Linked DNA regions of Homo sapiens: all the other regions are linked to region 2. The links are contacts of gene promoters, found by promoter capture Hi-C in human tissues and cell types (Jung and others, 2019). All regions are on one chromosome and are shown on one strand. The core of a region is centred on a gene start or on the middle of the fragment in contact, and the rest is flanking DNA. Distances in the headings are between cores, read along the strand shown.

Region 1 (4,149 bases), core at 1,246-3,745, 460 kb before region 2:
CATAAGAATGGGGGAAGAAATAGAGCACCGCAGACTGCCTCATAAATATCTGTGTCTACAGATCCTGGCTGATTGCAGAGGCAGAGGCGAGACTCTGATCTCCCAGGAGGCTGTCCCTGTGCCTCCCAAAGGGAATATTTCTCTCTTTTTTCCTAAAGGAGCGAGGTCACTCATCATGACCTGAAAACATGAAAATGTGGGTCCACCTTTACTAAATTTGCAGGTTTCCCCAGAACCTTAGCACTAAAAGAACCTCTGTCAACTATCATCATCATTATTATTATTTTTGAGATGGAGTCATGCTCTGTCACCCAGACTGGAGGGCAGCAGTGCACTCTTCGCTCACTGCAACCTCTGCTTCTGGGTTCAAGCAATTCTCCTGCCTCAGCCTCCCGAGTAGCTGGGATTACAGGTGTGCGCCACCACGCCCGGCCAATTTTTGTAGCATTCGAAGAGATGGCGTTTCACCATGTTGGCCAGGCTGGTCTCAAACTCCTGACTTCAAGTGATCCACCCACCTCAGCCTCCCAAAGTGCTGGGATTACAGACACGAGCCACTGCGCCTAGCCTCATTATTTGTTTATTATTATTATTTTACTATTGGTTAGCATGAGAATTGTGGTTATGTTCATGTCATGAAGTTCAACTGCCTAAATTCTATCCCAGCTCCGTCGCTTATTAGCCCTGTGAGCTTGCGTAAGCCATCATGGATCTTTTCAAGCCCAAGTTTTCTCAATTATTAGATGGGATAATATTGGTCCCTATGCCTTAGTCTGTTTCATCTGCTATAACAAAATACCTGGGTAACTCAAAAACAACAGATATTTATTGCTCACAGTTCTGGAGGCTGGGAAGCCCAAGATTAAAGACACTGACAGATGAGGTGTTTGGTGAGAGCCTGTTTCTCATCCATGGTGCCTTTTATGTCCTCACATGCTGGGCACATGCTCAGCTGGAAAGGGCAAGCAAGTTCCCTAGGGTCTCTGAGCACTGATTCCCATTCATTCAGGTGCCGACCCAGAGCCTTCATGACCTAATCACCCGCGAAAGGCCCTGCCTCTTTTTTTTTTTGAGATGGAGTCTCGCTCTGTCACCCAAGCTGGAGTGCAGTGGCATGATATGGGCTCACTGCAACCTCTGCCTCCTGGGTTCAAGCGATTCTCCTGCCTCAGCCTCCTGAGTAGCTGGGATTACAGGCATGCGCCACCACGCCTGGCTAATTTTTGTATTTTTGGTAGAGAGGAGGTTTTGCCATGTTGGCCAGGGTGGTCTCGAACTCCTGACCTCAAGTGATCCGCCCGCCTTGGCCTCCCAAAGTGCTGGGATTACAGGTGTGAGCCACTGTGCCCCAGCCGGCCCTGCCTCTTGATATCATCACACTGGGGACTCGGTTTCAACATGTGAATTTGGGGCGGGGGTCGGGGGCGGCACAAACATTCAGACGCTAGCACTATATAAAATCCAATGAGATAATACATGCAATGTGCGCAGCACAGTGCCTTGCGCACAGCGGCTTAATAAACCTTGGTGATTATTATGAGGCCACCAAACCAGGGATAGGTCGTGTGGTCTGCCTAAGGTGCGCAGGGAAGGGTAGCAGATCCCGGCCGGGTCTGACTCCTGGATCCTTGCCTGGGACTCTTTCACTGTCCCCCCAGTCCCCCGCACACACATGCACACGATGTTACCCCGCGTTCGAGTCGTGATCGACGGGCAGCCAGCTGGACCTGAATGTCATTCAAATGATTGCAGGCTCGAAACCAGGGGTGGGGGGGCTCTCAGGAGAGGATTTGGGCCCAGAAGGGGACATGCAGGGGGAAGCCAGAGAAGTGAGAGGGAGATCTGAGTGGTGGGTGCCCCAGCAGCGTAATATGGCTCCATTTCCAACCTGGAACCAGGTTGTTGCCTCTCCAGACATTTTGTGTCCGAAGGAAGGGGAAGGGAATTCAGTAGACATTCTTTGGAGGAGCCTCTTGGACTTCGGTGACTTTTTCTTGACAAGAACCATGGTCTCCTAGGGCAGAGCTGCCCACATGCTTTTCTGGGAGGTCCCGGGCTCCCCAGGCTCCTTGGAGTAGAAGGAAGTCTGGGGACCCCCGAGAGCCTGCCTGAAATTCCTGGCTTGAGCTCACGGGGGAGCTGGTGAGCTGTGGAGGGAGGCAGCTCCCGGGGTTCTTGCGGGTCCCTGCAGCACGGGAGGACCCTCCAAGGCCCTGGGCACCCATCCTGGTCAGACCGTCCCCTCCCACCAACTTTTCTCCTTGTCTCTCCCAGAAGGGTGCCCTGGGGAGACCCTCTCCCCAGAGGCTGGGACTGGGCAGGAAGGTGGGGCAGCTGCTCCCATCCTTTCTGCCCCGCACAGTTCAGGCAGTTCATCTTCGGGCAGGAAGATGAGGTTTCGAGGTACTTCCTGGGCTTGCGCTGACGTTTTTGACTACCGTCCCCGCCCCCACCCCGCCCCACTCTCTAGTTTGGCCTCTGCTGGCTCCAAAACCCTCTCAAATATCCCACGAGGGTCATTAGTGGGAGACCTTTGTTCAGTTCATTCATTTTTTAAATCAATGCTATATATTTTTTTAATGCTCGGAAACAGTGTTTTGATGTGAGTTTATTACTTGAAGAACTGCAGGACTTTGTACAACAAACTGCCTGATACTAAAGTTATATTAACAAAGAGATCAAGAAATGACTGGCTGTGTGCACAGAGGCTTAAAGGTTTAGTGTGGCTGAGATACTAAACGTCTCTCTTTCCCACCACTTTATTTTATTTTTATTTTTGAGACAGAGTCTTGCTCTGTCACCCAGGCTGGAGTGCAGTGGCATGATCTTGGCTCACTGCGACCTCCATCTCCTGGGTTCTCATGCCTCAGCCTCCCAAGTAGCTGGGATTATAGGCGCATGCCACCATGCCTGGCTAATTTTTGTATTTTTAGTACAGATGGGGTTTCATCTTGTTGGCTAGGCTGGTCTCAAACTCCTGACCTCAGGTGATCCACCCGACTCAGCCTCCCAAAGTGATGGGATTACAGGTGTGAAGCACTGCACCCAGCCTCCCATCACTTTATTTTAAAAGTGTATTTCCAAATCCTCGTCTTCTACCTCGGGGTGGTCGTTCCAAAATGTTTTATTTCTGAAGCTTCCCAGATAAGCAGCTACAATTTCACTCTTTCCTCCCCAGCTCACTGGGATGCATTTTTTCTTCTTCTTTTTTTTTTTTTTTTTTTTTTTGGTGGAAGGAATTTTTTTTAAAAAAACTAAGACGTACCTAATTTCAGTAAAGAGTAAAGTACACAAATCTTAAGTGGAGAGCTCTATGGATGTCTCCATTTGTCTACACACTCATAACTACCACCGCATTCGGCTATGGAATATTTCTAGCATCTGGGGTGCAGAGTTTTTTTTGTTGTTGTTTTTTGTTTTTTTTGAGACAGAGTCTCACTCTGTCGCCCAGACTAGAGTGCAATGGCCCGATCTCGGCTCACTGCAACCTCTGCCTCCCAAGTTCAAGTGATTCTCCTGCCTCAGCCTCCCAAGTAACTCCTGACCTCAAGTGATCTGCCGCCTCGGCCTCCCAAAGGGCTGGGATTAGAGGCATGAGCTGCTGCACCCAGCCTGGGATGCAGTGTTTTTTTGTTTGTTTGTTTTTGTTTTTTGAGATAGAGTCTCACTGTCACCCAGGTTGAAGTGCAATGGTGTGATCTTGGCTCACTGCAACCTCTGCCTCCCAGCTTCAAGCGATTCTCCTGCCTCAGCCTCCTGAGTAGCTGGGACTACAGGCACATGCCACCACGCCCAGCTAATTTTTGTATTTTTAGTAGAGGCGGGGTTTCACCATGTTGGCCAGGCTGGTCTTGAACTCCTAACCTCGGGTGATCCACCCACCTCAGCCTCCCAAAGTGTTGGGATTACAGGCGTGAGCCGCTGTGCCTGGCAGTTTTTAAGGAACACTGTGTTTGTCTATTTGGGCTGCGGTAACAAAATACCTTAGACTGAATGGCTTAGAAGCAACAGACATTTCTCACAGTCTGGAAGCTGGGAAGTCCATGACCAGGGTGCTGGCAGATTCAGGGTCTGGCAAGGACCAGCTTCCTTCACAGATGGACGTCTTCTCCCTGTGTCCTCACATGGTAGAAGGGGTGAGGCAGCTTT
Region 2 (3,839 bases), core at 682-3,181:
AGGGTGAATTAATACTGCTGTCTTCCCTTCCTCCCTTTGATCTTAATATCATAAACGTTTTTAAAGAACTGGAAGAGGGTGAGTGTGTAGAGAAAATGCCAAGTAGGAAAGTTACAGGTGAGATTAATGAATTCATACTGTTACTGTATAAATACACAATTTTTTTAAACAGCACCATTTCCAAGTTATACACAATATGATTATGACTTGGCACAACTTTTAAAGGTGGAAAAGGCTAGTTGCTAGTTCAGTAATAAAATACCTGGTACATAGAACGATAAGGAGCTGTATTCTACCTGCTACACATTGTGCATTTTACACCTCCAGCTAGGACAGAAACAAGCCACAAGCGGGGAATACCCGCCCAAATTAATACTGGAAAGTTTACAAAACCTTCACTTCTCATAAGGGTGATGCTACCAGCGGCTTGCTTCACCTGGAATTAGAGTAACTGATTTTTAAAGACAACTGAGAATATTAACTCGCTTCAAACAATAAAATAGTCATTTTGCCGACATTTCATAAAATCGCCAGTTTTAAGCTCAGTTCAGAGGCTTTTAAAAAAATATTCTAGACCTAGTAAAGTGCCTCCATTCATAAAATGAAACATCCAAGATTGAGACAATTTCATACTGATGCGCATCTAAAATAGGTCGACGTATACAGTAAATAAACAGCGCCTCTAAGTTGCCATATTTCAGTTAGTGGAATACACACCCAGCCTTCGCCGTTCTGGATGTGCAAACTAGAAACTGAAGACAAATGGGGATTTCAGCGTCTAGTCCCAATCGTTCAGCACGGAAGTACTCCACACGGTCGGCTGCTTTTCAAAAACCACCAGGACGACGTCCCATGTCGAGCCGACCGCTGAGCCGCACGCCTCCCCACGGCGGGGGCGAGATGGTGCGCAGACCTAGCGGTGCGAGGGGCGGCGGCGACCCTGGGCGGCCGGGAGCCCGGGCCTTCAGCGCAGCTTCTTGCCAGGCGGGCCGTCCCTGGCGCTGCGGGGCGGCGGGCGGGCGGGCGGCGGCGGCACTTTGGAGAGCGGGCAGTACTTGATGGTGTGCGCGTTGTCGCCGCTGGCGCCGCACAGGGGACACGTGTAGCGGCGCAGCACGGGACACAGCACTCGCCCGTCGGGGCCCTTGAGGATATGGGTGGTGTAGAGCGCCATCGCCTCCTTGTTGTTCCGGCAGAACACGCACACCTGCAGCTCGGGCTTCAGCAGCCGGGCGGCCGCCGCCCCGGAGGCCGCGTGCAGCCGGGGCTCGGCCGCCCACGCCGGGGCCCGCTCCTCGCGCGGCGTCGCCTCGCTGGTGGTGGTGGCGGCGGCGGCGGCGGCGGGCGCGCAGCCCAGCAGCACGGCGGCGGCACGACCCGCGAACGGGCTCAGCTCGGCGAAGCGCTCCTCCAGCAGCCCGGCCTCGGCGGGGCCCGCGCACAGCTCCAGCGCGCGCAATTCCAGCGCGCTCCCCAGGTAGCGGCCCCGGGACCCCGGCTCGTCGCTGTCGTCGTCGTCGTCCTCGTCGTAGTCGGGCGGCCCCAGCGCCGGCCCCAGCGCCCCAGGCCCGGCCCCCGTGTGGGGGGAGCAGCAGGACGACGAGGAGGAGGAGGGCGGGGAGCCGCCGCCGCCGTTCCCACCGCGGGCGCAGCCGAAGCGCGGCTCGCCGTCCACCGCTTTGGTGATGAGCGTGGCGAGCCCCAGGTAGTCGTTCCAGGAGCTGAAGGGCTGCGGGTGCGCCGGGCCCGGGGCGCTCACGTAGCGGGCGCTGGGCACGAGCGCCATGGGCGGGGGGGCGCGGCCGCGGCGGGGCGAGCGGGGCGCCCAGGGGAAAGCCTCCATGGGCGGGCTGCGGGCCGCGCGCCGCCTCCCCGCCGCCGGCGCGGGCCGGACGGAAGGGACACGCCGAGCCTGCCCGCCGGCCTGCCGCGGGGTGGGGCCGCCGCGCCGCCTTTTATCGGGCCCACTCCTCCCCGCCCCCCGGCCTCGCCGCCGCGGCCCTGCCCCCTGCGTTCCCCCGCCCCGGCCACCTCGCCCGCGCCCCGGACGGAGGCGGAGCGGAGGCGGGCTGGCTGTGTGCGCGCTCCGCTCCAGCCCGCGCGGCTCCCGCGCCCCGCGCGCTGCGCCAGCCTCGCCAGCTGTCGGGCGGCCTTCATTCCGGGAGGGGGCGGGCGAGGCGCCGCCTCGAGCCGTGGCGCTCATTGGCTGCAGACCAGAGCCCCCCGGCGCCTCGGGCGCCGCTCCGGACGCTGATTGGTGGGAACACGGGGAGGGGGCGTGTTCTCCGCGCAGCTGGGAGGTGAGGAGAAAGTAGGGGAGAGAAGGGCCGGGAAGGGAGGGCCGCTGGGGCCCGCATTCGAGCGCCGGGCCTGGGCTTGGAGCAGGTGACCAGGCCTGGGTCTCCTCGGCCTGGTGGTGAGGCCCCCCGAGGACAGGGGTCAGGGTGGCCACAGGTTTACGCCCCCACCTCCCAGCCTTTAATGGCCCTAGGCCCTAATCCTGAGAATCCCCGCTATCCACCCCCTTCTCACCAACATCAGCATGAAAAGCTGGACGCGTTGGAAGGATGCAGCTCTCCCATCACAGCCGCCCAACCAGCCAGTGGCTTCCGTTTGCACCGCGCGTTGGAGCGCTTTCCCCTGGGCGAAATCCATACAAACCCTGAGGTTCGGGGAGGCTGTGGTTCCTGCCGCGGTAAGAGCGGAGGGACGCAGGACTTTCCGGCTGCACGCAGCAGCCTTCCTCCCAACAGGTGCTCAGGGACTTCAGCCAATGGGTGGCCGATAGCCGGTTACTTAGGTCGGGGTTGGGGCTGGGCCGGAAAATCTCATGGCTGGAGAGCCTAGGACAGTGACTGGGATGTGTGTGTGTGTGTGTACCCCCTCGCCCCAGAGGCCTGAGTCAAAATGTGGGTTGTATGTGCAGTTTGAAAAACAACGTGTATTCAATGTTATATTTTGTCTTCCTTCCTTCCTTCCTTCCTTCCTTCCTTCCTTCCTTCCTTCCTTCCTTCCTTCCTTCTTTCCTTCCTTCTTTCCTTCCTTCCTTCCTTCCTTCTTTCCCTCCTTCCTTTTCTTTCTTTTTTTTTCTTTTCTTTCCGCATCCCGGGTTCAAGCAATTCTCCTGCCTCAGCCTTCCAAGCAGCTGGGATTACAGATGCCCGCCACCATGCCGGGCTAATTTTTTGTATTTTAGTAGAGACGGGGTTTCACTATGTTGGCCAGGCTTGTCTTGAACTCCAGACCTCGCGATCCGCCTGCCTTGGCCTCCCAAAGTGTTGGTGTTACAGGCGTGAGCCACCGCGTCTGGCCTCTTTCTTTCTTTCTCACTCTTTCTTTTTTCTTCTTGATTTTTCTTTTTTCTTTTTTTTTTTTCTTGAGACAGGGTCTCACTATGTTGCCTAGGCTGGTCTTGAACACCTGGCCTCAAGCGATCTTCCTGCCTTGGCCTCCCAAAGTGCTGGGATTACAGACATGAGCCACCACACCTGGCCTCAACATTATAATTAAATACTTTGAAATGAATAAAACATGTTGTGTAAAAGCCATGGAGAATAAGAGCCAGAAGATGAGTTTTGATTAGGAAGATGGCAGGTGGTCTTACACTTCCCAACTTTTTTAAAAATTGAAAGTAGGAAAGGCTTTAGATACTGAGGGCTCTTCTAGGATGAAACCTAGAACTGGGATCAGGAAAATGCCTCCCCTGGCAGGTGGGCCCTGGCAGGGTGGGCTTCATGGGGCAGATGGGGCTTTCCTTCCTCACTCTGGACCATGCAGTGGCTGTGGAAACAATGAGCCCTCACTAGGCCTGAGGCCACACTCACAGGTCTTGGCTGTGC
Region 3 (4,080 bases), core at 1,068-3,567, 470 kb after region 2:
TGGCCAGCAGAGCCAGGTTCCCTGGAGCCCTGCAAAGCCCACAAACACCCGAGCTGTGGGGTGGCTTTGCAGCTTCTCTACCAGCCACCCCACCACAGGGCAGGACTCAGGCATGCTGAGGGCCCAGACTTGGTTGTGACCTCATCATCTCTGCCAGCATCTTGGTCTCCTTCAGCTGGCGGAGACCTGACCAGATTAAGGGGACCCCAGGCCCTAGCCTTCTCCCTGGAGTGTGTGGAAACATGCCTGCTCTCACCCACGATCGCCTTGTGCCACTCCCATTTGGGCGTTAGAGTCTCTCAGTGTCTCACTTTGTCAGCTGTTTCATTTGTACAAAATACAACAGGGAACAGCCTGGGTCATAGTAGAGGAATCATTAATTATGTAAACAACTCCATATTTGGGAGCCAGTGCCAGACGCTAAGCCCTGGGGATAGAGCAGTGAACTGAACCTGGGAGGTGGAGGTTGCAGTGATCTGAGATCACACCATTGCACTCCAGCCTGAGTGACAGAGTGAGACTCTGTCTCAAAAAAAAAAAAAAAAGGATCTACTGGGGCCAGGCATAGTGGTTTATACCTATAATCCCAGCACTTTTGGAGGCCAAGGCAGGAGGATTATTTGAGCCCAAGAGTGTAAGACCTGCCTGGACAACATGGTGAGATCCAATCTCTACAAAAAAAAAATTGCCAGGTATGGTGGTGCACCTGTGGTCCCAGGAACTTGGGTGGCTGAGGGGGGAGGATTGCTTTAGCCTGGGAGGTTGAGGCTGCAGTGGGCAGTGGTCACACCACTGCACTCCAGCCTGAGCAGCAGGGTGAGACCCTGTCTCGAAAATAAAATAAAAATAAAATAAAAAAGATCACTTGGACAATTGACATGGGGGCAAGAGAGAAAGTGGGAGGGGAGGGGAAGAGTTAGGGGGCTTCTGCCAGGTCCCATTGGACAAAGGTGAAGGCTGGGACTGGGGTAGGTGCCACACTGAGGGGGCAAACTTGGGATGTGTTTTGTGGGAGCGCTGCCAGGACTAGTCAATGGATTGGATGTGGGGCATGGGGAGGGAAAGGGAACACAAACATGATGTCCCCTGTGGTTTTGGTCTGGGTAGCTGGTTGATGGTGGTGTAGTGACTTAGATGGAAAAGCTGGAGGAATAGCAGGTCCAGTGTGAAAATCAAGGGTTCTGGTTTGGCCATGTTGGATCAGAGAAGCCACCCACAGAAGGTTTAAGGTACCGCGTGGCACCTGCAGAATGTCCAGGATGGGAGGATGCCTCCAGCTGCATCTCAGGCCCTGGCTCTGGGGGGGCACCCCCGCCCCCTTCTTGGAGTATGCTCTTTAGTGTGAGGAGAGTGGCCCCTAGTGAGTAGGGATCGGTAACCTCACCCACCTTCCACCCCTTTCATGAGGCTAGGCCACCGCATCTGGGCAGGAAACAGCAGAGCCACGTTCACCTGAAGGCAGTGACCACCTGGGATGGGTTAAAATGCGGAGGCTGCAATCGGGGCCCTGAATGTGCGTATTGAACTTGGGCCCTTGATATCTGTCATCAGGCAGGTTGGGTCCCACGCTCTGCAGATGTCTGTGATCCGAGGGTGTTGAATGGCCACGGCCCTGAGTGTCCCCATGAAGACTCCTTCCCCCACACACCTCAGTTGACTCACTGAGGGCCAAGGTGACAGAGTCCTTAAGACCACGATTTTGAAGTCAGATACCCAGGATTGCCTCAGCTGCCTCCATTCCCAGCTGCCTGACTGGGAGGAGTTGCGGAACCTTTCTTGGGGATCCCTTTCCCCCTTTGAGGAAGGTCTTAGCTGCCAAATGGCCACATTCTGAGGCTTTGGTGGACTCCTGTAGGGGAAGGACATGGTGGCCCTTACTGGTTGAAGGTAAAGCCCCTGACTCCTGGAAGCTTCCAGGAGACTCTGGAAGCTACCCTCACTTTCCGTAGGAGGAAGACCCTGCCTGCCCAGGGCTGCAGCCACTCTCCTTGTCATTTGACTAAATGCACCGCTTCCCGTCCCTCCACCAGATGTCAGGCCAAAGCTGTGGAATGGAAATGATGCCTGGGCTCTGCCAGGCGGCAGCAGCTGCAGCCTGGAATGCGAACCTCCCACAGATGCCCCATTAGGAGAGTTGGGGAGGGGGCACTGAGGGTAGGGAGGGGATGTGCAGGGGTCCTGGCATCCACACCGGGGCTGGATTCTTAGATCTCTGGGTCGAGGCTACTCTTCCAAAGTCAGAAAGGGAAGTGAATGGTGGGGTGCTAGGGCCCCTCTCCTGGCCGTAAGAGCTCAGAACACATGACCAGCAGAGACAAACAAATTCTCAGGCCCTACCAGATCTTTTTAAAAAATGTTTTTGGTAGTGGGAGGCATTAGGATTTATTTGAAACCTGTCTTTTTCTATTGATTGAATTATAGGTGACAATAGCCACGTTTCATACACTCCCTTTTCCCTCTTTGGGGGACTCTTGGAGAAACAGCCTCATGAGTTCATCTGACCCATACCCACTGGGGCAGAGCCCAGCCACGCCTGAGGGGTCTGTGGTGTGTCTGGACCCTTAACTGGGAGAGTAAGAAGAGAGGCTGCCAGAACCCAGGAATTCTGCTCTAAAAGGGACTGCAGCGGCCTTAGGTCCAATGTCTGGATGATGCTGGTGCTGTTTGTTTGGTTTCTGTCAGTCCCACCAGACTGTAAGTACCATGAAGACAGAAACCACATCTGCATTGCTCACTATGGTGTCTCCAGACCTAATAAGGTTTATCTGAGCTGAGAATGAATGCTTTTGGGGAGATGAAATATAGCAGGATGCCCTGGTGTCAGTATTTGCTTCGATGAAAAAAATCTTAGGTTTGTAACTTGCCTAGCTCTGTGGCCCTGGGCAAGTTGTTACAAAACTTTGGCCCTCAGTTTCTTCATCTGTAAGATGGGGATAATAATGGTGTTTCCACAGGGCTGTGGAAAAGAGTGCCAGAGACTCTGCACAGTGCCCAGTGCCTAGTCAGATGGGGTGCTTGTTCCAGTTACCTATTACCATGTAACAAACCATCCCAAAGCAAGTGGCACAGAGCAGCAACAATTTTATTACACTCACAGATTTTGTGGACCAAGACTTTGGAAGGGAACAGAGGGGTCATTGTTTTCTGTTCTGCAGTGTCAGCCAGGACCTCAGCGGGAATGATTCAAACAGCTGGGGCGGGGTGGGGGCAGTGATGAGACAAGCTAGAGGTGGGAACAGCTGGGACTGAGGATCCACTTCCAAGGTGGTTTCACTCAACTTTCCCTTGCCAGGCCTGAGGCTGCTGGGGGCCATCAGGATCAGGTGGGACTCTTGACTGCAGGAAGCCTCCATGTGGTCTCTCCAGTATGGTAGTCTCAAGGTGGCTCAGGGATCCAACAGCAAGCTCTCTAGGGAACAAGGTGGCAGCCTTATGGTCTTTGATGACCTTGCCTTGAAGTTCTATGGAGTATCTTTCACCACAATCGAAGGTGGAAGAAGACACAAGCCCATCTGCATTCAAGGGTTGGGGATGTAGACTACCTCTCCAATGGGATTACTATGGAATTCATAGCCATGTTTAAAAACTCCAACACTTTTAATTTTAATTTTTAAATTTTGACATAATTTCAGACTTTCAGAAAAGTTGCAGGAATAGTTCAAAGAATTGCTGTATTCTCTTCATCAAGCTCCAAATTTTAGTCTTTAAAATTTATCCCTTTCTCTCTATATATACTTCTACATTGTTTTTGCTGAACTGTTCAGTATAAGTTGCAGCTGTGATACTTCCTTATTTCTACATACTTCTGTATTTCTAAAAACAAGGACATTCTCTTACATAGCCATAGTACAATGTCCAAAATTAGGAAATCAGCAAACATGACTATTTCTGTTATAAGGTCATATTCAGATCGAATTGTCAATTATAAATTATAAATACATTATAAATGTCTTCATAGCCAAAGAAAACCCAGGATTGTGTGGTGTACTCAGTTGCCATGACTCCTTAGTATCCTTTAAACTGGAATAGACCCTAAGACTTGCTTTGTATTTCATGTGTTTACATTTGAAGAGTATAGAG

What was found. The method cuts DNA at HindIII sites, captures the fragments that hold promoters and counts their contacts. A contact is called where the count stands out against the background at its distance.
Region 1: a fragment that was not itself captured here is called in contact with the fragment with the promoter of NANOS1 in region 2 in 1 of the 25 tissues and cell types used here (spleen).
Region 3: a fragment that was not itself captured here is called in contact with the fragment with the promoter of NANOS1 in region 2 in 1 of the 25 tissues and cell types used here (dorsolateral prefrontal cortex).

Annotation. Positions count from the first base shown.
Region 1 is chr10:119,487,910-119,492,058 of GRCh38, reverse strand. No RefSeq gene overlaps it. Among named protein-coding and RNA genes, the nearest start is that of RGS10, 53 kb to the left of the region's middle. The HindIII fragment of the contact is 4,157 bases long and covers 417-4,149 here.
Region 2 is chr10:119,027,806-119,031,644 of GRCh38, reverse strand. NANOS1 (nanos C2HC-type zinc finger 1) reads right to left here and starts at 1,931. Exons shown (of 1, transcript NM_199461.4): 1 at 1-1,931. The coding sequence starts at 1,843. The coding sequence ends at 965. It overlaps LINC03036 (long intergenic non-protein coding RNA 3036), which reads left to right and starts at 2,074. Exons shown (of 4, transcript NR_186540.1): 1 at 2,074-2,300. RefSeq lists silencers at 860-1,159, 1,530-1,739, 1,860-2,329 and an enhancer at 2,154-2,654. The HindIII fragment of the contact is 19,263 bases long and covers 1-3,839 here.
Region 3 is chr10:118,562,789-118,566,868 of GRCh38, reverse strand. No RefSeq gene overlaps it. Among named protein-coding and RNA genes, the nearest start is that of PRLHR, 31 kb to the left of the region's middle. The HindIII fragment of the contact is 6,270 bases long and covers 1-4,080 here.